7 separate regions of the Homo sapiens genome follow, and regions 2, 3, 4, 5, 6 and 7 are each linked to region 1. Evidence: promoter capture Hi-C in 16 types of primary human blood cells and fetal thymus (Javierre and others, 2016). All regions are on one chromosome and are shown on one strand. The core of a region is centred on a gene start or on the middle of the fragment in contact, and the rest is flanking DNA. Distances in the headings are between cores, read along the strand shown. Region 1 holds the start of PLAG1 (PLAG1 zinc finger). Region 2 overlaps LYPLA1-TCEA1 (LYPLA1-TCEA1 readthrough). Region 3 holds the start of UBXN2B (UBX domain protein 2B). Region 4 overlaps LYPLA1-TCEA1 (LYPLA1-TCEA1 readthrough). Region 5 overlaps LYPLA1-TCEA1 (LYPLA1-TCEA1 readthrough). Region 6 overlaps MRPL15 (mitochondrial ribosomal protein L15). Region 7 has its middle 24 kb from the start of MRPL15.

Evidence for each region. The method cuts DNA at HindIII sites, captures the fragments that hold promoters and counts their contacts. A CHiCAGO score of 5 or more calls a contact.
Region 2: a fragment that was not itself captured here is called in contact with the fragment with the promoter of PLAG1 in region 1 in 1 of 17 cell types (activated CD4 T cells); the score reaches 5.9 in activated CD4 T cells.
Region 3: the fragment with the promoter of UBXN2B here is called in contact with the fragment with the promoter of PLAG1 in region 1 in 1 of 17 cell types (M2 macrophages); the score reaches 5.0 in M2 macrophages.
Region 4: a fragment that was not itself captured here is called in contact with the fragment with the promoter of PLAG1 in region 1 in 1 of 17 cell types (activated CD4 T cells); the score reaches 5.6 in activated CD4 T cells.
Region 5: a fragment that was not itself captured here is called in contact with the fragment with the promoter of PLAG1 in region 1 in 6 of 17 cell types (activated CD4 T cells, naive CD8 T cells, non-activated CD4 T cells and 3 more); the score reaches 10.4 in activated CD4 T cells.
Region 6: a contact is called between a fragment that was not itself captured here and the fragment with the promoter of PLAG1 in region 1, in 4 of 17 cell types (total CD4 T cells, naive CD8 T cells, activated CD4 T cells and 1 more). The highest score is 12.5, in total CD4 T cells.
Region 7: a fragment that was not itself captured here is called in contact with the fragment with the promoter of PLAG1 in region 1 in 1 of 17 cell types (non-activated CD4 T cells); the score reaches 5.4 in non-activated CD4 T cells.

What each region holds. Positions count from the first base shown.
Region 1 is chr8:56,209,570-56,213,063 of GRCh38, reverse strand. It overlaps PLAG1 (PLAG1 zinc finger), which reads left to right and starts at 1,791. Exons shown (of 5, transcript NM_002655.3): 1 at 1,791-1,943. CHCHD7 (coiled-coil-helix-coiled-coil-helix domain containing 7) reads right to left here and starts at 1,275. Exons shown (of 4, transcript NM_001011671.3): 1 at 1,227-1,275. RefSeq lists an enhancer at 1,097-1,166 and silencers at 1,179-1,404, 1,247-1,806. The HindIII fragment of the contact is 9,849 bases long and covers 1-3,494 here.
Region 2 is chr8:53,999,491-54,002,984 of GRCh38, reverse strand. It overlaps LYPLA1-TCEA1 (LYPLA1-TCEA1 readthrough), which reads left to right. Exons shown (of 21, transcript NM_001425842.1): 14 at 2,935-3,040. It overlaps TCEA1 (transcription elongation factor A1), which reads left to right. Exons shown (of 10, transcript NM_006756.4): 3 at 2,935-3,040. Among named protein-coding and RNA genes, the nearest start is that of TCEA1, 21 kb to the left of the region's middle. The HindIII fragment of the contact is 297 bases long and covers 1,381-1,677 here.
Region 3 is chr8:58,409,643-58,413,136 of GRCh38, reverse strand. UBXN2B (UBX domain protein 2B) reads right to left here and starts at 1,776. Exons shown (of 8, transcript NM_001077619.2): 1 at 1,668-1,776. The coding sequence starts at 1,751. RefSeq lists enhancers at 1,331-1,380, 1,661-1,710, 1,721-1,780. The HindIII fragment of the contact is 12,087 bases long and covers 1-3,494 here.
Region 4 is chr8:54,051,119-54,054,612 of GRCh38, reverse strand. LYPLA1-TCEA1 (LYPLA1-TCEA1 readthrough) reads left to right here. Exons shown (of 21, transcript NM_001425842.1): 7 at 1,857-1,958; 8 at 3,425-3,494. LYPLA1 (lysophospholipase 1) reads left to right here. Exons shown (of 9, transcript NM_006330.4): 7 at 1,857-1,958; 8 at 3,425-3,494. Among named protein-coding and RNA genes, the nearest start is that of TCEA1, 30 kb to the right of the region's middle. The HindIII fragment of the contact is 4,437 bases long and covers 1-3,494 here.
Region 5 is chr8:54,094,106-54,097,599 of GRCh38, reverse strand. All of the region lies in intron 2 of LYPLA1-TCEA1 (LYPLA1-TCEA1 readthrough), which reads left to right. The region is part of intron 2 of LYPLA1 (lysophospholipase 1); the gene reads left to right. Among named protein-coding and RNA genes, the nearest start is that of LYPLA1, 6.1 kb to the left of the region's middle. The HindIII fragment of the contact is 2,828 bases long and covers 505-3,332 here.
Region 6 is chr8:54,137,232-54,140,725 of GRCh38, reverse strand. MRPL15 (mitochondrial ribosomal protein L15) reads right to left here. Exons shown (of 5, transcript NM_014175.4): 3 at 3,293-3,458. Among named protein-coding and RNA genes, the nearest start is that of MRPL15, 3.7 kb to the right of the region's middle. The HindIII fragment of the contact is 2,170 bases long and covers 617-2,786 here.
Region 7 is chr8:54,157,192-54,160,685 of GRCh38, reverse strand. No RefSeq gene overlaps it. Among named protein-coding and RNA genes, the nearest start is that of MRPL15, 24 kb to the right of the region's middle. The HindIII fragment of the contact is 6,436 bases long and covers 1-3,494 here.

The DNA.
Region 1 (3,494 bases), core at 542-3,041:
TATGATGTGAGAACACAGAACTCTTCATACACCTTAGATTTAATAATCTCAACAAGGATCAGACAACCTTGCATTAAATTTAAGTTTCGTGCCTTACATGAAAGTATCCTACTCTATATTTTATTGTCAGTCAGAAATTCTTCAAAAATAATACCTAGGTAACATCACATATACCCAGTTCGAGTTTGGTGCATGAGTTTCTTCACATTTCATTTCCTTTTCCTTCCGGATTCTAAATACAAGGCACTCTAAGTTTGGATTTCCGAAAGTCCCCTCCTTTGCATGAGTTCCTCGTGTATTAACTGGAATTGAAGAGGAAATGTCAATTTACAGTGAGGAGCGGGGCTGAATTACAACATCGAGTGCTCCGCTAAAGGGGCCTTGTCTATTACTTTTTGAATGTACTAAATAAATGTTACAAGGCTCTACTACTTGCAGAGCATAACCAGAAAGAAAAACCAAGCAAAGATATGAAGGAGGGGCCACAAAACCATAGCACATTCAGGGGATAACTCTAAAATCCACTCCAAAGGGCAAACTGCTTAATAAAGCAGTTCCTGATTTCCCATCCAGTGGTTCACGTCCCCCCTCTCTAAGTAGCTTTGAAAGGGCAGGGGGAAGGAAACGTTTCTGAACACGTTCATGCCCACACGCCCCGTGGTCGGAGCCCAGGCAGGGTCCGCGGCTCTGCTAAACCCGGAAGCTGCACACGCCGTGCCGTTAACCCACTGCCAGGTGCAAAGTGGAAGGGGGCAAGAAGTCAAGGGTGGCCTGCCGGAGGTGGGCGCGCAGGGCAAGGAGAAACGAAGGGCGAACCCGAGGCCTCGCCGCCTTCCGCGGTGTAGCCCGTCAGCATCTGATCCTGGACGGCGCGCACAGGTGAACACACCTTGCTGTGCCGAGACCATGCCGAGAGAGACAAGGGGCGAGGAAAACGCAGGGAACTGGGGGTGGGGCCGGTAACTGCGCTTCAGAGGCTACACAGGAGAGTGGAAGAAGAGCTGGGGTTGCCCGGACTAGGCAGAGGTCATCTTCCTCGCCCCCGGAGCGAACAGACCCGTGTGGCGGGAGGAAGAGCAACGGGAAGAGGTCCGCGCTGCGGCGAAGCCTGGCGGGAGCGCCTCCGCGCCGCAGAAGTGCATTCGGGCCCCGCTACGGCCCAAGGGCACCCCTCTCTCCCCGCTTTTCTGCGGCCGCTTCGGAGGTAGGGCGGGGGAACCACTCACCTCCGGCCTCCGCTTCGCCAGCACCCAGGCCGTCTCCAGCTCCAAACACGTCAATGGCTCACGCAGCAGGACCTTAAGTAGCGCGCATCCCAACTTGCTGCCCCCGCTCCCCGGCGGCAGCCCGCCCAATCGGCGCGCGCCGCCGCCAGACTGACAGCCGCGCGGGGCCCTGGGCCGCAGGGGCGGTCGGGCCTCGCCCCGCCCCCGCCTGGCGAAAGGAGGGCCGAGGCGGGAGGAGTGGGCGGGGCGGTGAGCGCGACCCCGCCCCCTCTTCCCCCGCCCCACCGCGCCCCCCAGCCGCGGCCCGTCTCTTAACACTTCGGCTTGACGGGCGGCGTCGCGGCCCAATGGGCGGGCCAACTCCCGCCAGCGGCGGCTCCGAGTGGCCAGCTCTCGGGCGGAGCGCGCGCGGGGGGCGGGCGCAGCGGCGGGCGGGGTTTGGGGGCGGGCCGACGGGAGGCGGGGGCGGTGGCCGAACAGGCAGGGGGAGGCAGCGGTGGGCGCGACGTCGGCGGCGGCGGCGGCGGCGGCGGCGGCAGCTGCAAGTTGGGCTGCAGGGGCAGCGCATACACTACAATGGCTGCTGGAAAGAGGCGTAAGGAAACAATTTCCAGGCCCGCCGCGTCCAGCCCGAAATATGAGAAAAAAATTATTAGAAATTCCGCGGGCGGTGTAGAGGCGGCGGACGGGCCGGAGGGAGGATGTTAAAGCCCCGCGGTGAGTTCTCCGGGGGTCCGGGGCGGCGGCGAGGCGTTTAGCGGGAGAAATATCAGGGTTATTTAAATTATGGGACTAGCCGAGGGGGCAGAGGAGCAGCGGCGGCGGCAGGAGGAGGAAAAGTTTGTGCTACTCTCAGCCCCTGCTCAGGACCCCAGAGAGAAAAATAATAATAAAAAATAAAATAAAATAATTACGCGGGGCTGCGAGGACTCCCGAAGTCGCTTCTGACAGGGCAGGGGGCGATGCGGCTGGGGACCCGAAGGTGAGGTCGGTGGGAAAAAAAAAAAAACCTTTATTCAGGGTCTGGAAAGTTTGAAAAGTTTTCCTCCTCCTCCTCCTCCTCCTCCTCTCTGGTGCTGTGAATATTGTGACAGCGGCAGCGGCAGCAGCGAGAGCGGAAGACATTAGAGACCCGAAAAATAAGGGAAAAATTAATATAAATTCAGTTTTGAGAGTAAACTCTCCGCATTTTCCACCAAAACATCCCGGGGGAAGGTCGCTTCCCAAAGGGCCTGGCGGAAACCCGCAGTCGGCAATATTTGGGGGGCACTTTGAGTGACTTGGGGTAACTTTGCCCCTTTTTCAAAAGAGGTTTTTCTTTTCTGGAGAAATGAATTTGTTTTTGCCCTTTCCTCAGGTGGGCAAGCCGGGGTCGGGGTGCGGGGTCTGCAGGGAGGTGTGAGCCCGGGGTGTGTGGCTGCGAGGGGGGGTAGGGGGAGGGGGTGCTAAATGAAAGCAGGAGATCGGCACAGAGCAGGGACAGCTTGTTGTCAGTATCATAAACAACCAAAATGGAGGGAGAACTCAGGCATATAACCAAATAAAAATTTTTAAAAAATCGCAAAAAATCCCTAAAAATCCGGGATGCTCCCCCTTTTCTCGCTAAAGGTAAAAGTATGTACCGCCTTTCCCCTGAAGTCCATTTTGACTTTGCAGGGACCAAGGAGTTAATATTTATTTATTTTTTAAAACTTTCGAAGGGCAAAAGCCTTTTATAACTCAACCGACAATGAGAAAACGTGAAAATCCGATGCAAGAGAAGCAGGGGGAGCGAGGGGGGAGGTGGTAGTGCAGAAACTGCTAAACTTATTGGTAATGTGGACTGATCTCAGATAAGATAAACACTATATTTGCTATTTTATAACTCTCTTTTAATGATCTTTGCGGGGTTTTTTTGGGTGGAAAAAAAAGTGATGCCATTTTCTTAATAGAGTTAATATGTGTGATTGGAAGAATGAACCTTTCCGGCTTTAGATTGCATTTTCGTCGCATTTATGCTTCAGGTTTTGTTAGTGGCTCCCTCCTTTCTTTAAACTGGGCTCTGCAGAGGAGGGATAGAGAGGTGATGGTGCTCAGAGAGGCTGGAGTGCAAGGCTGGAGTACCTTTTGGGGAGGGATGTGGAGTTGCTTGGTTTCCCCCTTCCTGACATGTTTGCTTCACCTGTTCATCCTTCCTAAAGAATGTTAAGCTGAGGTTTTCTGGTTTTATGTGTATAAAAGGATGATGTCTCTTGCATCACATTGATGTTAATGGGAAAGTGCTGCTGA
Region 2 (3,494 bases), core at 280-2,779, 2.2 Mb after region 1:
TGTCTCTTGATCTCAGTACTCATTCCTTTCTGCTTTTCCATCAGTGTGCAGCTGACCCCTAAGGCTGCTTAATGCACTCTCCACCTTTCCAAGGTAATGTCTTTCTTTCTGTATACCTGATGTTCTATAGAAATCATAGGCAAAGGCACATATTTTATCTGCTAGAGTTTCACGATGTATAGTTTGTCCTGAAAGCTTTCATTAGTCCTGCAGTCAAGAAAACAGTTATAATCCCACAATTCCTAAGGTCACTTGAGCACAGAATACTTTCGTATAACCTATCTATTACATCTTGTAAGTCTTAGCATACCAATTTTAGGAAAAATCTCTAGGGAATTCATAGAGTCAACTTCAGACTTGCTTATCCAAGTAAATAGCTTCATAATCTTTTCCTCTACTTTTTTTTTTTTTCATTTTTTCCATGGTACCCCCAAAGGAAAAAAGAAAAACTTATTTCAAATCTTTGTTTTTCATTCTACCTCAGCAGCTTCATTTCTTTTTTTTCTTTTTTTTTTTGAGACGGAGTCTTGTTCTGTTACCCAGGCTGGAGTGCAGTGGTGCAATCTCGGCTCACTGCAACCTCTACCTCCCGGGTTCAAGCAATTCTCCTGCCTTAGTCTCCCAAGTAGCTGGGACTACAGGTGCGTGCCACCATGCCCAGCTAATTTTTTGTACTTTTTAAAGATGGGGTTTCACCGTGTCAGCCAGGATGGTCTTAATCTCCCGACCTCGTGATCCACCCACCTCGGCCTCCCAGAGTGCTGGGATTACAGGCGTGAGCCACCATACCCGCCCTTTTTTTTTCTTTTTGGAGACAGTCTTGCTCTGTCGCCCAGGCTGGAAGCTGGAGCGCAGTGGTGTGATCGTGGCTCGCTGCAACTTCTGCCTTCTGGGTTCAAGTGATTCTTCTGTCTCAGCCTCCCGAGTAGCTGGGACTACAGGCGCTTGCCACCACGCCCAGCTAATTTGTTTTTTGTTTGTTTGTTTGTTTTTTGTTTTTTTTTTTTAGTAGAGACAGTTTTACTATATTGGCCAGGCTGGTCTCAAACTCCTGACTTCGTGAGCCGCCCGCCTCAGCCTCCCAAAGTGCTGGGATTACAGGTGTGAGCCACCGTGCCCCTCATTTCTTATTATTTTGGCTTGACAATCTCTTCCATAGATAAGCATGTTTATTACAAGATAACTATATTCTCAGTATAGGTTTTGTTTGAGGCTAAGCGGGATAATCATTGACTTTTTAGTAATCAAAACATCCTCTGATAATTAAAAAGCAATCACCCAGCAGTACACAATTCATCATCTCCTTACACCTTTGCTCTCCTGCAAGCCCCTAGTAAAGTGCCATTTTATTTTTTTGCACGTTTGTGTCAGTTCTAAGCTTCAGAACCACACTAATAAGTTATTTCCTCTACACATTCAAAAAGTGGAGTTTTTTTCCTAGTAAACTAGCCTTGTTAACCCCAAATTGTTTGGGGCTTTAAAATTGTGGAGTCCCTTTATCTTTCTGCTGTTCAATCTTGTCTGTTTTGCTCAGCTTTCTAAGAGATATAGGACACTCTAGCCAACCACATATTCTAAATTCTTGAATAAAACTTAGATCCTGAATCTGTTTGTTGAGAGGATTGAATAATTTAGAAGGAAACCTCAAGTACCCGTATATTTTTCTACCGTAAAGCTTACAATAGGGTGTCTCTTTTTTTTCACCACTAAGAATTCCTTTTGTTATTTTTTTCTTCCATAGACCATATGTTTGAAATATTGTCTGTTAACAACCCGAACTTACTAAATAATATACCATTTTTTATTTATCATCCATATTTGGGCTGTCATAGCTTTTGTGTTCTTTGAGCACAATTTGAAACCATTAATGTGCTACAAAGACCATGGACTTCGGCAGTGAACAAACCTGGATTAAAATCCCAGTTTTTGGCTGGGCCGGTGGCTCATGCTTGTAATCCCAGCACTTTGGAGGCTGAGGTGTGTGGATCACCTGAGGTCTAGAGTTTGAGACCAGCCTGGCCAACGTGGTGCAGTCCGTCTCTACTAAAAATACACAAATCAGCCGGGCGAGGTGGCATGTGCCTGTAATCCCAGCTACTCGGGAGGCTGAGGCAGGAGAATTGCTTGAACCAGGAGGTGGAGGTTGCAGTGAGCCAATATCGTGCCCCACTGCACTCCAGCCTGGGTGACAGAGTGAGAGTCCGTCTCAAAAAAAAAAAAAAAAAATCCCAGCTTTGCTGGTTGGTAATGGTGTGATGCTGGGCACGTTATTTATTGGTACTTCCAATCTCTTCATCTTTAAAAATAGGGATGATCTCAACTTTGAAGGGTTGTTAGAAAGATTGATGAATGTGGATGCTCTAAGCATAATTCTAGGCACGTAATTATCACAGGTTAAATTTTACCTGTATTTTGTGAAGTGCATTTTAATGTCTCTGATTATATGCTGGTTCCTGGCAAAATAAAGCCTTTTAAACCTGGATAGGTGGTAGTTTTTGTTTGGATATCCTCATAATAATTTGCAGCTGGTGCTCTATGAAGTAATCCATGTAGAGGAATGTATAGAAACAAAGAAATGCATGTATTAGTCATGATTGCTTCAGCCTGACTTATATACAACATTATATATTTTATCCTCGTTTATCTTCACTTCTCCCTTGTGGAAAGATTGATTGCATTTTTCTAGTTAACCAGACTTATTACAGTAGTGAATTTTATGCTTCTAGATCTTGATGATAAGAACATTAATGAGTCTAGTGTTTGATCTGAAGATGTATGTATCTTAATATAATTTGCTATTATAAGGATCCAAAAATTGAAGTTTTGAAATTCTAAAATAGAAACAGGAATCTGGGAAAGAAAAGAATGTAGGTGAAATACTAATTTGTTTAAAATAAAATTGGTATACATAATTTTTTTGTTATTGCCTTGCAGTCCACAAGAATCGGAATGTCAGTTAATGCTATTCGCAAGCAGAGTACAGATGAGGAAGTTACATCTTTGGCAAAGTCTCTCATCAAATCCTGGAAAAAATTATTAGGTATCATTGATCTTCCCTTACATATATTTATGATGTTGTGATTTATTCAAATAGTTAATGGTTACATTTTATGGTTAGTTAATGGTTACATTTTTTTCTTAGTGAATCTAGATATACTGAAAGCAGTGCCTCGTAATAAAGGCGAGGGGAGTTAATTTGATCTTTAGGGTTTTTTTGCCTTTTAGGCCAGTCAAATTTGGCTTTCTTAACTTTTGACACAACTGGATAAACTCTTTCAGTAAGAAGAATTTTCTCTTAAAGGAAAGGTTGTGGATACCTTTTGAAATGGTTTTTGAAATTTTTTGACTTACAGAAAACTTGCAAGGATGATTAAAAGAATGCCGTATCCTTTATCCATATCATCAATTTTTAATATTTGCCATATTTGTTTTATCATATTCTCTCTTTTTCTTTCTCTATTTGCACACACACAAATTATTTTTTTCGGAACCAT
Region 3 (3,494 bases), core at 527-3,026, 2.2 Mb before region 1:
CAATTAGCAACATCTACCAGAGTATCTCCAAACATTAATCGTACTTTGATCCACTGGATTAAGACTGCAAACAATTTGCCAAGAATCAGGTGGTCATTAAGCAAGCTGTTCTCACTTTTCACATAAAAAGAAGAAATGGATTTAAATTAGGGAAAGGACATTAAGTTACACACTCTATTAACTTTAATGATATTAGAATTGACTAGCCAGGGAAAGTTATAGCATCTTTCTCCTGAGGAAAAAGGAATCAAATATTTGCCCAGCAACAACTGAGCCAGGATAATGTAGGAATTTTGCATAGGCCCTTTATAACATTATTTAATCCTTACACCACCACCAGCACCCTGACCTTCCTCAGTTTACAAATGAAGACACAGGATCAGACAGGTTAAGACATTTCTCCTAAGTTCACAAAACTACTAAGTAGCAGGACTAAGAGGCAAACCAAAATTGGTGGGACTACTAACTCCATGCTGCCTCTTAGTGATGTGGGTTTATAATAGGAAAGATGAGGTACACAATAGCTTCCTATCCCTTGATACTGTTTACTACTACTGAACCAACTATGGGAGCTGGAACTATTCTACATTAAGTTCACCTCCTAATGTTACACTGATCTCTCCAGCCTCCAAATTCTTCGCTTTATGCACTGCTTATTTTGGCACCCAATCATACTCCATCTTAAAATGTTATGCTAAGTATTCATACCCTATTTCTCCGAAGAAATCTGTAGGCTTCCAAAAGGTAGAACTGTCTTTTACACTTACATACCTACCCATCAATAGAGTTCAGCACCGACTAAGGATTTGATGTCCTTATTTCCACATTCGCAAAGCTCAGCAGTATGTTACAATGGATGGTGGTTTGTTCACATTAGAATGAAGTGTGGTTGTAAAGTAATACAGTAAAACTGTTCTACCAAGATTCTCCTTAGTATCTCCTTACTGATATTTACTTGTCAAATTTTTATCAATAATCTTATAATGAGACACAAAAACGCCTAAAATGAGAAAAGTGGCGTTAGTATCTGATAAAACGGGATTTGGTGCGCTACTATTTAGCTAACTAATACTAGTGTCCTACACAACATTACGAAATTTTATTTCCCAGTTTCTTCAGTGCAATGTTTTAAAGACCACAGCTTAGACAACTAGGCTGTATGGGCATAGAGTGCATCGCTTTCCTTCACCCCTTTAAAAGAAAAACCTACCTGATAAAATGGAACCATTTTTATATTTAAGTAAGCAAGTCAGAAATAGCATCCAAGACAAAAAAGAACAAATCACGTATCATTACTGTTCAGGTGACTGTCTACTTCCCTGCGGCCACAGTAACCTTTCTTCTGGAGTAAGTCTCAAGAAGGAAGCATCAACCCGTGAACCGACCAACTGACCCCGCAAAATGTCATTCTAAACGAATAGCTATTTTTACATCATACGTGGGGTGGAAGGGAGACAAAGCACCAGCGCTGGAGGCTTGGGCACTTGTGTTCACGACCACCACAGTGTCAAGACCCGACATCGGGAGACCGGGCGCCGGATTCTATCCCCAGACGGGGTCGGGGAAAGGCTCCGCCGAGGCCAGAGGTGGCCTCCAACTCGCACCAGCCCGCGCCGTCACCAGCCCGCGTCCACCGCCGCGCTCCCTCCCCCGGCTCCTCGCCTCACCTGCAAATCCCGCGCGCTCGGAGGCCGCGGCCCGGAAGACCTCCTCTCCTGCTCGCCGGGCTCAGGGCCTCCGCCCTCCGCCATCTTCCGCTGGCTAGCGGCGCCCGCTGCGGACGCACCTGCCGCAACTTCCGGGGCCGGTTGCCTGGCAACCGCAGGAGGGGCGAAGACGCGCAAGGTGCGTGCGCGTCCCCGCTACCCGAACCCGCGCCCCCGCTTCCGGTGCTGGCCCACCTTTTTGGTTTCTCCTTTTTTCTTAAAGGGAGTTTCTCCGCAGGGAAACCTCTGTTAAGTTTTGTGTTGCTCCTGCTACTCGCCTAAAGGCACTGTAGGCCGCCCTAGAGGGCAGCATAGACTTGCAGATTCATTTAGCTCAACAATGAAAACATCCTCTGGATTTTTCATCTGATGAAAAATTGCAACCTCTCCATCTAGTCTTGGTCAGATTCTCTGATCTTTCCTATCAAGGATTGGATGGTACATCGTCACCACAGCGTGAATTAGCACTGAGAGTGAAAAACACCGTAAAAAGTGCTTGGAATAATTTGCTAAAAGCAGAACTCTGCCGGGCCTGTGGCTCACGCCTGTAGTCCCAGCACTTTGGGAGGCCGAGGCGGACGAGGTGATCGAGACCATCCTGGCCAACATGGTGAAACCCCTTCTCTACTAAAAAAAAAAATATATATATATATATATATATATATATATATACACACACATATATATATACACATATATACACACACATATATATATACACATATATATACATATATATACACATATATATATATATATATACACAAAAATTAGCTGGGCGTGGCGGAGCGTGCCTGTAGTCCGAGCTACTGGGGAGACTGAGGCAGGAGAATCGCTTGAATCAGGGAGTCGGAGGTTGCAGTGAGCCGAGATCGCGCCACTGCACTCCAGCCTGGCGACACAGGGAGGATCCGTCTCAAAAAAGAAAAAAAGCAGATCTCGAGACTATCAAGCCCTCGTCATTCAACTGAAATTGATTTAGACTCTGGTCTTCTTATCCTAGGCACTTTTTGTTTTTGAGACGGAGCCTCGCTCTGTCGCCCAAGCTGGAGTGCAGTGGCGCGACCTCGGCTCACTGCAGCCTCCACCTCCCGGGTTCAAGCAATTCTCCTGCCTCAGCCTCCCGAGTAGCTTGGACTACAGGTGCGTGCCGCCATGCCCGGCTAACTTTTGTATTTTTAGTAAAGACGGGGTTTCACCATGTTGGCCAGGATGGTCTTGATCTCCTGACCTCATGATCTGCCCACCTCGGCCTCCCAAAGTGCTGGGATTACAGGCGTGAGCCACTGCGCCTGGCCTCCTAGGCACTTTTATGCCCAAGGGATGCAAAGGTAAAAAGAAATAGTCCCAGTCATTATGAAACTCAGTCTAGTAGGGAAAAGAGACATGTAAACGGGTAAGATGCAGCTTGCAGTAGAGCTTTGCTTGGGAGGGTTACAAAGGAAATGTGAGCCATGTGAGGGGAAATACTCCGTTGGTATCTGCTGTGTGCACCATGCTAGGTGCTGGAGTCGACAGCTTGCCGCCCGAGCTTTGGCATACTGATCGTTTTGATGTATAAAGGCATTTGAGGCTGGGCGTCGTGGCTGACGCCTGTAATCCCAACTCTTTGGGAGGCCGAGGCAGACGGATCACTTGAGGTCAGGAGTTTCAGACCAGCCTGGCCAACGTGGTGAAATCCTGTCTCTACTAAAAATACAAAAATTAGCTGGGCGTGGTGGCGCGTGCCTGTAGTCCCAGCTACTTGGGAGGCTGAGACAGGTGAATTGCTTGAACCCGGGAAGCAGA
Region 4 (3,494 bases), core at 457-2,956, 2.2 Mb after region 1:
TCCTCATACGGACCTTTCTTTCATGGCTACTGCGGCATATAAGCTGTTTGCCATGGAACCAGTCCCCAGATGCTCTAACTTATCATCTGTAAATCTTCTAAGTTAGCAACTTAGTGTTTGGATTACCTTAATTAGGGAGATGTTTGGATTACCTTAATTAGGGAGATGTCAGAATTCTGAAATTATTTAGAAGATAGAATTCAGTAGAAAGATTTGTTGATACAATATAGTGAAAAGGTGTTACTGATTTGGTGTTTGTTGAAATTCACAGATAATGTATATTGTAATACACATTGTGACATAAACATAGGGACAGAAATTAATGATCCAGGCCAGGCACGGTGGCTCACGCCTGTAATCCCAGCACTTTGGGAGGCCAAGGTGGGTGGATCACTTGAGGTCAGGAGTTCGAGACCAGCCCAGCCAACATGGTGAAACCCTGTCTCTACTAAAAATACAAAAATTAGCCGGGCATAGTGGTGCACGCCTCTGTAACTCCAGCTACTCCGGAGGCTGAAGCAGGAAAATCACTTGAACCCAGGAGCCAGAGGTTGCAGTGAGCCAAGATCGCACCACTATACTCCAGCCTGGGCAACAGAGCTGAGACTCTGTCTCAAAAATAATAATAATAATGATCCAGAATAACAAGTTCATGTGGGAGTCTGTATATTTGATATTCATTCATTACAGTATATAGAAACCAACTCAATACCTCAAGCAAGGAGTAAGCAATGAGTCTGTGGCATCCTATCAAGGAAACTGAGGAGGAAAATGAGGCAAGGCCTCAGGAAGTAGCTAGAAATTGAAAAGCAGTTGGGCCTTGCTCACCATCTCTCATCTCTTGTTTCTTTGCTTGTCTGTTTCATTTACCTTTCCATAAACAATTGGCCATCTTGGCTTTTGCAGCCTATAGCTTTTCCAGCTCTTGAATTTACATGTTACAGGTGTAGCCACACAGAGAGTGACTGGTGGTCATCGAATCCCATTTCCACAGTGCCAGGAGAAAACATCACTGCCTGGGATGTGAAAGGCTCTCGTGTACTCATGTGTTGCAGTAACCCATGGGCATGGTCAGAGTGATGGGGCTTCTGGATGCTGGCAGGAGTACAGCTTCCAGAATGTGGGATGTTGTGAGCTGGGTAGGCAGATACTCTGAAGGTGTCTGCTAAATAGTTATTATTATCTTAAATTCTCATTTAGAAAGTAATACCAATTTAAGGGCCAGGCACGGTGGCTCACACCTGTAATCCCAACACTTTGGGAGGCTGAGGCGCGTGGATCACCTGAGGTCGGGAGTTTGAGACCAGCCTAACCAACATGGAGAAACCCCGTCTCTACCAAAAATACAAAATTAGCCGGGTGTGGTGGTGCATGCCTGTAATCCCAGCTACTCGGGAGGCTGAGGCAGGAGAATCGCTTGAACTCAGGAGGCGGAGGTTGTGGTGAGCCAAGATTGCACCATTACTCTCCAGCCTGGGCAACAAGAGTGAAACTCCATCTCAAAAAAAAAAAAAAAAGTAATACCAATTTAAGAGCAGATTGGATTTTATGCCTAAAATTCTGCAAAGGAGAAAATATAAATTCAGAATATTCGTAAGGCATGTTGTAAGTGCAGCAGTTTCCCATGGTACAAACTATGTCTCGTCGGAAAGGAAGTCTGTATGTTCTCTGGTGTAGAGAACCGCATCCTTTAGGACACGGTGGGGTGTGTTTGTATTTCCGATATTTGCCTGATTTGATTTGACACCAGCCACCAAGTTTGATTTTTTTATGGATATCATTAGTAACAAGATATTCCCTAAATTGCTGTGGGCAAGCATGTGTGTTCCATTGACTTTCCCTGCTTGTCTTTTCAGGGAGGAGCTTTATCTTTATATACTGCCCTTACCACACAGCAGAAACTGGCAGGTGTCACTGCACTCAGTTGCTGGCTTCCACTTCGGGCTTCCTTTCCACAGGTAACTTGGTTGATGCACTCAACATGAGATTACTGAGCTAAAGGTAGCTAGTAGATATTGTTGGAGATAAAGTCATCTTATTTTTTTTTATTAATAAACTTTATTTTTTGGAGAAGTTCTAAATTCACAGCAAAACTGAGCAGAAGGTACAGAGTTACTATCTACCTCCTGTCCCCACACATGCACAGCCTCCCCACCATCAGCATCCCCACCTCCACAGCCATGTTTTTGCTGCAGTCAGTAATGCTGCACTGACACATCACCATCACCAAGTCCTCCACTTACAGCACTCATCCTTTTTTAAAAATAATTTTCTTAGACTTTTGTGATGTATTACTAGGCCTTATTTCTGTACGCTATACTGTCTGTATTGTGGAGTACATAGAATGGAATTAGAAAGAAACCTTATTGTCACAAATCTTATATTAGAAGGATTTGATACATTTTAGGATATATATGAAAATTAGGACTTTTTTTAACATATAGAAATCATACTTATTTTTAGACCAGGTGCGGTGGCTCATGCCTGTAATCCCAGCACTTTGGGAGGCTGAGGCGGGTGGATTACCTCAGGTCAGGAGTTCAAGACCAGCCTGGCCAACATGGTGAAACCCCATGGCTACTAAAAATACAGAAATTAGCTGGGCGTCGTGGTGCACACCTATAATCCCAGCTACTCAGGAGGCTGAGGCATGAGAATCACTTGAACCCAGGAGGTGGAAGTTGCAGTGAGCCACGATTGTGCCACTTCACTCCAGCCTGGGTAACAGAGCAAGACTCTGTCTTTGGGGGAAAAAAAAAAAAAAAGATAGCTGAATAAAACAGCAACTCAAAATACTAAAACAACCAACCAAACAAACAAAAAAAAGCTGAAAATATAAAGATGGATTAAAATATAATCTGCTTGGCTGGGTGCAGTGGCTCACGCCTGTAATCCCAGCACTTTCGGAGGCCAAGGCAGGTGGATCACAAGGTCAGGAGATTGAGACCATCCTGGGTAACACAGTGAAACCCTGTCTCTACTAAAAAATACAAAAAAATTAGCTGGGCGTGGTGGCACGTGCCTGTAATCCCAGCTACTTGGGAGGCTGAGGCAGGAGAATTGCTTGAACCTGGGAGGCAGAGGTTGCAGTGAGCTGAGATCACGCCACTGCACTCCAGCCTGGGCAACAGAGCAAGACTCCGTCTCAAAAAAACTAAACGAAACAAAAAAATGTATATATAATCTGCTTCAAGGAACTCATTCACTGGGAAGATATATATTATAATATGAGGCAAGGTGATCATACATCCTATAGAAGTCAAAGGGATGTGGTGAGTATATGGATGAAGGAATTTTATTTTTTTGGCCAAATGTAACTTCTAATATGTTATATATATGCATATTTATGTACAATTTTAAATGCCTGGCATAGTGTCCTATACTTTTACAAAAATAAAACTATTTCTTCTTTTGCTTTTTGCAGGGTCCTATCGGTGGTGCTAATAGAGATATTTCTATTCTCCAGTGCCACGGGGATTGTGACCCTTTGGTTC
Region 5 (3,494 bases), core at 669-3,168, 2.1 Mb after region 1:
AAACATTATATAATCACAGAAAAGTTATCCCATTAAATTTAACATTTAGTATTATCTAATATATTATGCATTCAACCTTTGCCAGATTGTTCCATTAATATCCTTTATAGCTATCTCCTCCCTAGTCATACATTATATTTAGTTATCACGTCTCTTTAGTCTCTTTTGTCTCTTTTAATCTGGAACAATTCCCTAGATTTTCTTTTGTCTTTCACGACATTGACACTTCTGCAGAGAACAGGCTAGTCCTTTAATTTGGGTTTGTGTATTTACTCATGATTAGATTCAGTTTATGCATTTCTGGTATAAATACCATGTAAACAATATGTCCTATTCATTGCGCGCATCAGTAGACTAATGATGCTGAGTCCTTTTATTGTTGTAACTTCGATCTTTTGATTAAGGTGGTATCTTCCAGGTCTCGACTGCAGTTACTTTCCTTTTGTAATTAAAAAGCAAGTTGCGGGGGGATACTTTGTGACTATGCAAGTTGTTCATCAAGCTTTCACCCAATATTTTTATCATCCATTGATAATTGCTTGAGTCAATCATTTCTACAGTGTGATTTTCCAATTCTGTCATTCCTTTTTTTTTGTCATTCCATTTTGTTTATTAATCTGCTACTCCCCATTTAGTTAGTATGGACTCAGATTTATTTTCTATTTATTTATTTATTTGTTTATTTTTTGAGACAGAATCTCGCTCTGTCACCCAGCCAGGCTGGAGTGCAGTGGTGCAATCTCGGCTCACTGAACCTCCACCTCCCAGGTTCAAGCAGTTCTGCTGCCTCAGCCTCCCAAGTAGCTGGGACTATAGGTGCGTGCCGCCACACCCGGCTAATTTTTTTTTTTTTTTTTGAGACCTTGTCTCGCCCTGTCGTCCAGGCTGGAGTGTAGTGGCGTGATCTTGGCTCACTGCAACCTCTGCCTCCTGAGTTCAAGTGAGTCTCCTGCCTCAGCCTCATGAGTAGCTGGGATTACAGGCACGTGCCACCACGCCTGGCTAATTTTTTTTGTATTTTTAGTAGAGACGGGGGGGTTTCACCATGTTGGTCAGGCTGATCTCAAACTCCTGACCTCGTAATCTGCCCTCCTCAGCCTCCCAAAGTGCTGGGATTACAGGCGTGAGCCATAGTGTCCAGTCAGATTTTTGTAGTTTTAGTAGAGACGGGGTTTTGCCATGTTGGCCAAGCTGGTCTCGAACTCCTGACCTCAAGTGATTTGCCCACTTCGGCCTCCCAGTCCCTCCCTGGAATTACAGGCATGAACCACTGTGTCATGCCTGGACTCAGATTTATTTAATAGGTTATGTTCTATTCTGTTATGTTTTAAACTTTTTAACTTTTCATTTTAAATAACTTGAAATTTACATAAAAGTTGCAGAAATAACATTTATAGCTCCTTATACCTTTCACCCAAATTACCCAATTGTTAATATTTCTGAACTATTAAAGAATAAGTTGCAGGCGTGTTGCCTCATTACAGCTTAATTCTTCAGTGTACATTTTTAAGTACCAGGACACTCCAGTATAACCATCATTAAGAAGTTAACACTGATGGTATACTACGGTCTAATCCACCAGCTCCATTCACATTTCATTGATTTGAGCCAATAATGTCCTTTATCAGTCTAGGATCACATATTGCCTCTACTTATCATTTCTCTTTAGTTTTCTTTATTCTGAAACAGTCCTTGTCTTTCATGACCTTGACACTTTGTCAAGAATACAGGCCGGGTATGGTAATACCAGTGCTTTGGGAAGCTGAGCATGAGAATCGCTTGAGCCCAGCTGTTTGAGACCAGCCTGGGCAACAGCCAGACCCTGTGTCTACCAAAAAAAAAAAAAAAAAGTGTAAGCCAGTTACTTTGTAGAATGTCCCTCAGTTTGGGTTTATCTGATGTTTTGTGATTTATACCTTTTTGACAGTAACACTATAGGGGTATTGCTGTGTCCATAACAGTGCATCATATTAGGCAGACCTCATGATGATTTTGTTGTTACTGATGTGTTTTATCACTTGGTTAAGATGGTGTCTGCCAGGTTTCTCCACATTAAAATAATAAATATAACATATGAAATATTTAAAATATTGAATATGTAATTAAAATATTAAAAAATATTTTGTGGGGAGATACCTTGATATTATAACATATTCCTGATCCCCACCATATGTTCACCCATGGATTTAGCACCCATTAATGATTATTGCCAGAATCTATTGTTGTGGTAGTTGCCGAATATCTTATGATATTTAAATATTTAAAGTTAAAATATGGTCTTTTAATTAAATTTCCTTTGTTCTGGCCGGGTGCAGTGGCTCATGCCTGTAATTCCAGCACTTTGGGAGGCTGAGGCAGGAGGATCATCTGAGGTCAGTAGTTCAGTACCAGCCTGGCCAACATGACGAAACCTCGTCTCTACTAAAAATTAAAAAACTAGCTGGACAGGATGGTGCATGCCTGTTGTCCCATCTACTTGGGAGCTGGAGGTTGCAGTGAGCCAAGATGGTGCCACTGTACTCCAGCCTAGGCGACAGTGAGACTCAGTCTCAAAAAAAAAAAAAATTCCTTTATTCTGGATTTATTATTTAGCAGTCTACTGTGGGGTAGAGCTTTCCTTTCTCCTTTATTTATTACTTATGTAGATACTCATTTGTTTCAAAATTTTAAATCAGTACAGACTCTTGGATTCCTATTGTATTCAGAGGATAACAATCAAGTTAGTTATTTATTTTGATGCTCAAATTGTCCTTTAGTTGGCCACAGTAACCCTTTCAAGCTGGTACTTGGTGTCTTTTGGACATATCCTCATTCTTATTTGATCACTTCCTCACTTTATGGTACAAGACTTTTTCTAGGATTGTCTTATATGTTTCCTGCTCTAGTCCTGGACTCAGCCATTTTTCCAAGAACCCTGGTTCCTTTTAGTAGACAGTGAGATCTGGATGCTATATGTGCTCCCAGATCTAGACCCTTGCAGTGGACAGAGCTAAGAATATATGGACATACATACATATGTACACACATATCAGTTTTAGTATTTATAAGTATTCAAAATCTTGAGTTTATAATGATTCCTCCAATTGCAGCCCAGCACCACAGGGTTTATTATAGCCTTCTCCCTTTCCATATTTGTAATTCCGTGAGGAACCTGACTTCTGTTCTTGGGGGGTTCTGGCCAACAGTGCAACTGTGGAGTGTGCCCCTCCAGTTGCACCAGCTCACAGCTATGCTTCATTCATGGGACCTCTCCCCATCTGCTGAATATCACACCTGAAAGCTCAGTTCCAATTAAGGGGAAACGAGGAGGAGGAAAGGCCTGGTGGAAAGCTTGGTTCTCTTCATGTGTCCCCCTCCCTGCTACTCCCCAGCCCCGATGTATTCCAGGAATTACTTATCTGTATTACCAGTCCCTGTGACATTTCCTAGACCAAGGAGATTATAAAAGTATAGAGAAGAATGTTTGAAAGATAAAATAAGTGGTTGACTGGATC
Region 6 (3,494 bases), core at 452-2,951, 2.1 Mb after region 1:
GGCGGGTGCCTGTAGTCCCAGCTACTCAGGATGCTGAGGCAGGAGAATGGTGTGAACCCGGGAGGCGGAGCTTGCAGTGAGCCGAGATCGCGCCACTGCACTCCAGCCTGGGTGACAGAGCGAGACTCCATCTCAAAAAAAAAAAAAAAAAGAAAAGAAAATGTAGTTCTAGGCCGGGTGCGGTGACTCAATCCTAGCACTTCGGGAGGCCAAGGAGGGCGGAGTACTTGATGTCTGGAGTTTGAAACCAGCCTGGCCAACATGGTAAAACCCCATCTCTACTAAAAAATACAAAATGTAGCCGGGCATGGTGGCATGTGCCTGTAATCCCAGCTACTCGGGAGGCTGAGGCAGGAGAATGGCTTAAACCCAAGGTGGAGGTGAAGGTTGCAGTGAGTCGAGATTGTGCCATTGCACTGCAGCCTGGGCAACAGAGCGAGACTCCATCTCAAAAAAAATAAAAAAGACAGAAAAAAAAGGAAAATGTAGCTCTGAACTCTGAAACGTTAAATTTTTGGTCACAGTCAGGATGTGCTATATTTTTCTCTAATTTCAAAGCAGATTCTGATAAAAGCAAAAAGATGGCAGCATTACCACTCTATGGCAATAGAAAGCTTTCATGAAGCTGAAAGAAAGTGGCTCCCAGTTTAGCTCCTTCTATTATTAATTTTTCATGTATTTCAAAAATATTCCATCAATTCTAAGATGCATTTTCACACTTTTTTTATATCCAATACTGGTATATGTTTAAAATCAACAGTACCTTTGATTCAATAAAACAGGGTCTTGCTGTATCATTTGTGATTTTTAAGCAATCCATAGTTTGCTTAACCATCTCCCTATTTGGGGGCATTGGTGTCAGTTCCAGTATTTTCAGTAGTATAAATAGCATTTTTAGGACTATCTTTATATCAGGTTTCTTTCATTTTGCTTTTCCTTGAGAACATGTTTCCAAATTGATAATTTTGTGCTAAAGGATCAAAACTGTCTTATTATTCACTATTTACTACAAATCTGAAATCACAGAAGTAAATCAGTTAACAGAGCTATAAATAATGTGTCATTGCAATTACTTGACCAGTGCCCTGGGGTAAAGTTTTCAGGGTTATTTTTATTAATCTAATAGACAACACCTAAGGATGTTGGGATGTGCAGTTTAAGGGCTGATAAGGTCATGGATTTCCATATGTTAAGTTACATGTGTATTTCTTTATATACACTCAGGGTAGAATACTGAGGCTTAATCTTGTATTTGGTATTCTCTTTTCAAATTACTTTATTTGGAAAGTTTTTATCCATACAGTTCACTTTTTCAAAAGAATCTGAAAGGTTTTTTCATAAATATATGCTTCCCTCTAGTGGACACTAACTTACTTATACAACTGTATTATTGGCAAACAGTAGTTGATTAACAATGTACAAAAAATTTGGCCGACGGGTAGCTCACGTCTGTAATCCCAGCACTTTGGGAGGCCGAGGCAGGCGGATCACCTGAGGTCAGGAGTTCAAGACCAGCCTAACCAACACGGTGAAACCCTGTCTCTACTAAAAATACAAAATTAGCCTGGCATGGTGGCACATGCCTGTAATCCCAGCTACTTGGAAGGCTAAGACAAGAGAATCGCTTGAACCCGGGAGGTGGAGATCGCAGTGAGCCGAGATCGTGCCACTGCACTCCAGCCTGGGTGACAGAGTGAGACTCCATCTCCAAAAACAAAAAAAAAGCAGAAAATTAGCTGGGCCTGGTGGCAGGTGCCTGTAATCCCAGCTACTTGGGAAGCTAAGGCAGAAGAATCACTTGAACTCAGGAGACAAGAGGTTGCAGTGAGCTGAGATGACACCACTGTACTCCAGCCTGGGCCACAGAGTGAGATACTGTCTCAAAAAAAATAAAGAAGAAAGTAAAGCAATGAATCAAAGCACCTGCCCTCAAGGGAGCTTATATTCTAGTGAGGAAGACAATGAAAACAAATGCATAACTTGGTAATAAATGTCAAGTGCTCATATATATTCAAAGAAAAATACTTTGGGCAGAGTAAAGGAAACACTGTGACTCCTGAAGCAGGGCAAGTGCTCTTTTAAAAAGACTCTCAAAAAAGACCTTCCTGGCCAGGCGGGGTGGCTCACATCTGTAATCCCAGCACTTTGGGAAGCTGAGGCGGGCAGATCACCTGAGGTCAGGAGTTCGAGAACAGCCTGGCCAACATAGCAAAACCCCACCTCTACTAAAAATAAAAAAAATTAGCCAGACGTGGTGGCACGCACCTGTAGTCCCACCTACTCAGGAGGCTGAGGCACGAGAATAGCTTGAACCTGGGCAGCAGAGGTTGGCAGTGAGCTGAGATCGCGCCATTGTACTCCAGCCTGGGAGACAGAGTGAGACTCCATCTCTATTTAAAAAAAAAAAAAAAAAAAAAAAAAAAAGATCTTCCTGATATGTTGACATTCAAGCAGAGAACCAAAAGAAGGGGGCGCCGTGGGCGGTGGCTCACGCCTGTAATCCCAGCACTTTGGGAGGCCAAGGTGGGTGGATCACGAGGTCAGGTGTTCAAGACCAGCTTGGCCAATATGGCGAAACTCCATCTCTACTAAAAATATAAAAAATTAGCCGGGTGTGGTGGCGCACGACTATAGTCCCAGCTACTCAGGAGGCTGAGGCAGGAGAATTTCTTGAACCCAGGAGGCAGAGGTTGCAGTGAGCCGAGATCGTGCCACTGCACTCCAGCCTGGGCAACAGAGCGAGACTCCATCTCAAAAACAAAAACAAAAAAAAAAGAAGGCAAGCTTTACAGATATGCAGAAGAGCAGCATTCCAGGACCAAGGGACAGAGCCCTGCCATGATAGTATGACAGCTTTCCAAAACCACAGCTATCACCACTACATAACAGTTATAAACACAAATGGGCTAAAAATAAAGGGGGTAGAGTACTGATTATCTGGAAATCAAAAATATCTCCTACGGGCCAGGCATGGTGGCTCACACCTGTAATTCCAGCACTTTGGGAGGCCGAGGTGAGCAGATCACTTAAGGTCAGGAGTTCAAGATCAGCCTGGCCAACATAGTGAAACCCTGTCTCTACTAAAAACAAATAAAATTAGCTGGGCATGGTGGTGGGTGCCTGTAATCCCAGCTATTCAGGAGGCTGAGGCAGGAGAATCACTTGAACTTGTGAGGTGGAGGTTGCAGGAGCCGAGATTGCGCCACTGTACTCCAGCTCAGGCAACAGGGCAAGACTCTGTCTAAAAAAAAAATCCTCCTATATAACACCAAAAGATCTAATCAAGACTTACCTCCTCAACCAGCTGGACACCATAATCCCTTTTAAGTGGCTGGATGGTCACACCTCTCCCATTGACAAGCTGGGTTAAGTCAATAGGTTGACTAGGATCAACACGACCCAAATCAATAAGATACTGCAGTCTATTGAGACTCAAAGGCTTATACTGGCGTCTGAAACTGTAAAACAAGAATGTAAGAGTTGGAAAACTCTCA
Region 7 (3,494 bases), core at 322-2,821, 2.1 Mb after region 1:
AATTTCTTCTGCCTGATACCCTAAATTATCTCTTTCAAGTTCAAAGTTCCACAATTCTCTCAGGCAGGGGCAAAATGCTGCCAGTCTCTTTGCTAAAACATAACAAGAGTCACCTTTGCTCCAGTTCCCAACAAGTTCCTCATCTCCATGAGACAACCTCAGCCCGGACTTTATTGTTCATATCACTATCAGCATTTTTGTCAAAGCCATTCAACAAGTCTCTAGGAGGTTCCAAACTTTCCCACATTTTCCTATCCTCTTTTGAACTCTCCAAACTGTTCCAATCTCTCCCTGTTACCCAGTTCCAAGGTCACTTCCACGTTTTCAGGTATCTTTTCAGCAACGCCCCACTCTACTCGTACCAATTTACTATATTAGTCCATTTTCACGCTGCTAATAAAGACATACCCAAGACTGAGAAGAAAAACAGGTTTAATTGGACTTAATAGTTCCACATGGCTGGGGAGGCCGCAGAATCATGGCAGGAGGTGAAAGGCACTTTTTACATGGCAGCCACAAGAGAAAAATGAGGAAGAAACAAAAGCGGAAACCCCTGATAAACCCATCAGATCGTGTGAGACTTATTCACTATAATGAGAATATCGTGGGAAAGACTGGTCCCCATGATTCAATTACCTCCCCCTAGGTTCCTCCCACAATGCATGGGAATTCTGGGAGATAAAATTCAAGTTGAGATTTTGGTGGGGACACAGCCAAACCATATCACCATGTAATTCCATTCCCCAGCATATACCCTAGATAACTGAAACCGGGGACTCATTTCTTGCACTCTAATGTGCACAGCAGCTTTATTCACAATAACTCAAAGGTAGAAACAGGCCAAATGTTCATCAACAAATGAGTGGATAAACAGTTGTCATATATACATGCAATGGAATATTATTTAGCCATCAAAAGGAATGAAGTACTGGTTCATGCTACAACATTGGATGAACCTTGAAAATATATTAAGTGAAGGAAGCCAGACACAAAAGACCACATAGTGTATGATTTCATTTACATAACATATCCAAAATAGATAATTCTGTAGAGATAGAAAGCAGATTAATAGGCTGGGAGTGGTGGCTCATGCCTGTAATCCTAGCACTTTGGGAGGCTGAGGCGGGTGGATCATCTGAGGTCAGGAGTTCGAGACCAAATTGGCCAACATGGTGAAACCCCATCTTTACTAATAATACAAAAATTAGCTGGGCGTGGTGGCAGGCACCTGTAATCCCAGCTACTTGGGAGGCTGAGGCAGGAGGCAGGAGAATTGCTTGAACCCAGGAGGCAGAGGTTGCGGCGAGCTGAGATCACGCCATTGCACTCCAGCCTGGGTGACAAGAGTGAAACTCCGTCTCCAAAAAAAAAAAAAAAGAGAAAGAAAGCAGATTAGTAGTTCCCAGGGGCTGGAGGCAGGGAGAGATGAATACAGACTGCTTAATGGCTATTAGTTTCCTTTTGGTGTGATGAAATGCTTTGGAACTAGATGGAGGAGGTGGTTGCACAACACTGAGAATGTATGACATTCTGCTGAATTGTTTTCAGTTGTCAACTTTATGGTATATGAATTTCACCCCAAGGTTTAAAAAACTTCTGTGAAGATGAAATGTCTTTTACCTTGTTTCCTACAGCCTTTCTTTGCTTTTTTGTTCCAAAAAGGTCTTTGAGATCTCTGTAACGCAATGCTTCCTTCAGGCACAGCATCCTGATGCACGCTGCTCCCTTTGCACAGAAGGATTGCTCTCATCGCCTCACTGGGCTCACTCTCAACCCTTGTTTTGTCACTTCTAAAGGAATCCTTCCCTGATTTCACTTACTAAATCAGATTACCTTCTTGTATGCAGTCGTGTCCCACATAAACACCATTTCCAGCACTTATCTTCATTGCAATTTTATATTCATTTGCGTGAACAACTCTGCTTTTAGACTATCAACTGCATGAGGGCAAAGACCATGTATTTTATTCAGCATGGAAGACCCAGAGTTTGGGACTTAGGAGGTACTCAATAAACAAGCCTTGGAATGATTAATCAAATAAATATTTGAAAATTATCTGCACAGTGCCTTGTAGGCCAAGCAGGGCAGATAATCTGAGGTCAGGAGTTGGAGATCAGCCTGGCCAACATAGTGAGGCCCTGTCTCTAATAAATATATAAAAATTAGCGGGGTGTGGTGGCACACACCTGTAATCCCAGCTGCTCTGAAGGCTGAGCCAAGAGAACTGCTTGAACTTGGAAGGCAGAGGTTGCAGTGAGCTGAGATCGAGCCACTTGCACTCCAGCCTGGGCAACAGTGTGAGACTCTATCTCAAAAAAAAAAAAAAACAGTTCAAACATAGAATAACCATATGACCCAGCAATTCCACTCCTAGGTATATACCCAAAAGAATTGAAAGCAAGAATTCATGGCCAGGTGCGGTGGCTCATGCCTGTAATCCCAACATTTTGGGAGGCCGAGTCGGGGGATCACCTGAGGTCAGGAGTTCGAGACCAGCCTGGCCAACATGGTAAAACCCTATCTCTACTGGAAAAACACAGAAAATATTAGCCGGGCATGGCAGCACATACCTGTAATCCCAGCTACTCGGGAGGCTGAGGTAGGAGAATCGCTTGAACCTGGGAGCTGGAGGTTGCAGCAAGCCGAGATTGCACCACTGCACTCCAGCCTGGGTGACAGAGTGAGACTCCATCAAAAAAAAAAAAAGCAAGAACTCAAACTTGAAAACCAATGTTCAGGGCAACATCAACCACAGCAGCCAAAAGATGGAAACAACCCAAATGTCCCTCAACAGAGGAGTGAATAAATAGAATCTGGTATATACATACGATGGAATATTATTCAGTCTTAAAACGGAAGGAAATTCTGACAGGTGCTCAAGATGAATGAAGCATGAGACATTATGCTAAATGAAATAAGCCAGTCACAGAAGGACAAATACTTCTGATTCCACTTAAATAAGGTATCTAAAGTAGTCAAATTCATTGAAAAGGAAAGATGAATGGTGGTTGCCAGGGACTGGGGGAGGGGAGGAAGAAATAGGGAGTTGTTGGCTGGGTGCGGTGACTCACGCCTGTAATCCCAGCACTTTGGGAGGCTGAGGCAGGTGGATCGCCTGAGGTCAAGAGTTCAAGACCAGCCTGGCCGACATGTTGAGAACCCCGTCTCTACTGAAAATACAAAAAATTAGCCAGGCATGGTGGCGGGCGCCTGTAATCTCAGCTACTAGGAGGATGAGACCAGAGAATCACTTGCACCAGGAGGCGGAGGTTGCAGTGAGCCGAGATCGTGCCATTGCACTCCAGCCTGGGCGACAGGGCGAGAATCCGTCTCAAAAACAAAAAAAAGAAAAAGAAAAAGAAAAAGAAAAAGAAAGAAATAGGGAGTTGTTTGTTTAAAGGGGTATAGAGTTTCCATCTTGCAGAGTTTCCATCTTGCAAGATGAAAAAGTTCTGGATATCTACTGCACAACAGTGTGAACATACTTAACACTA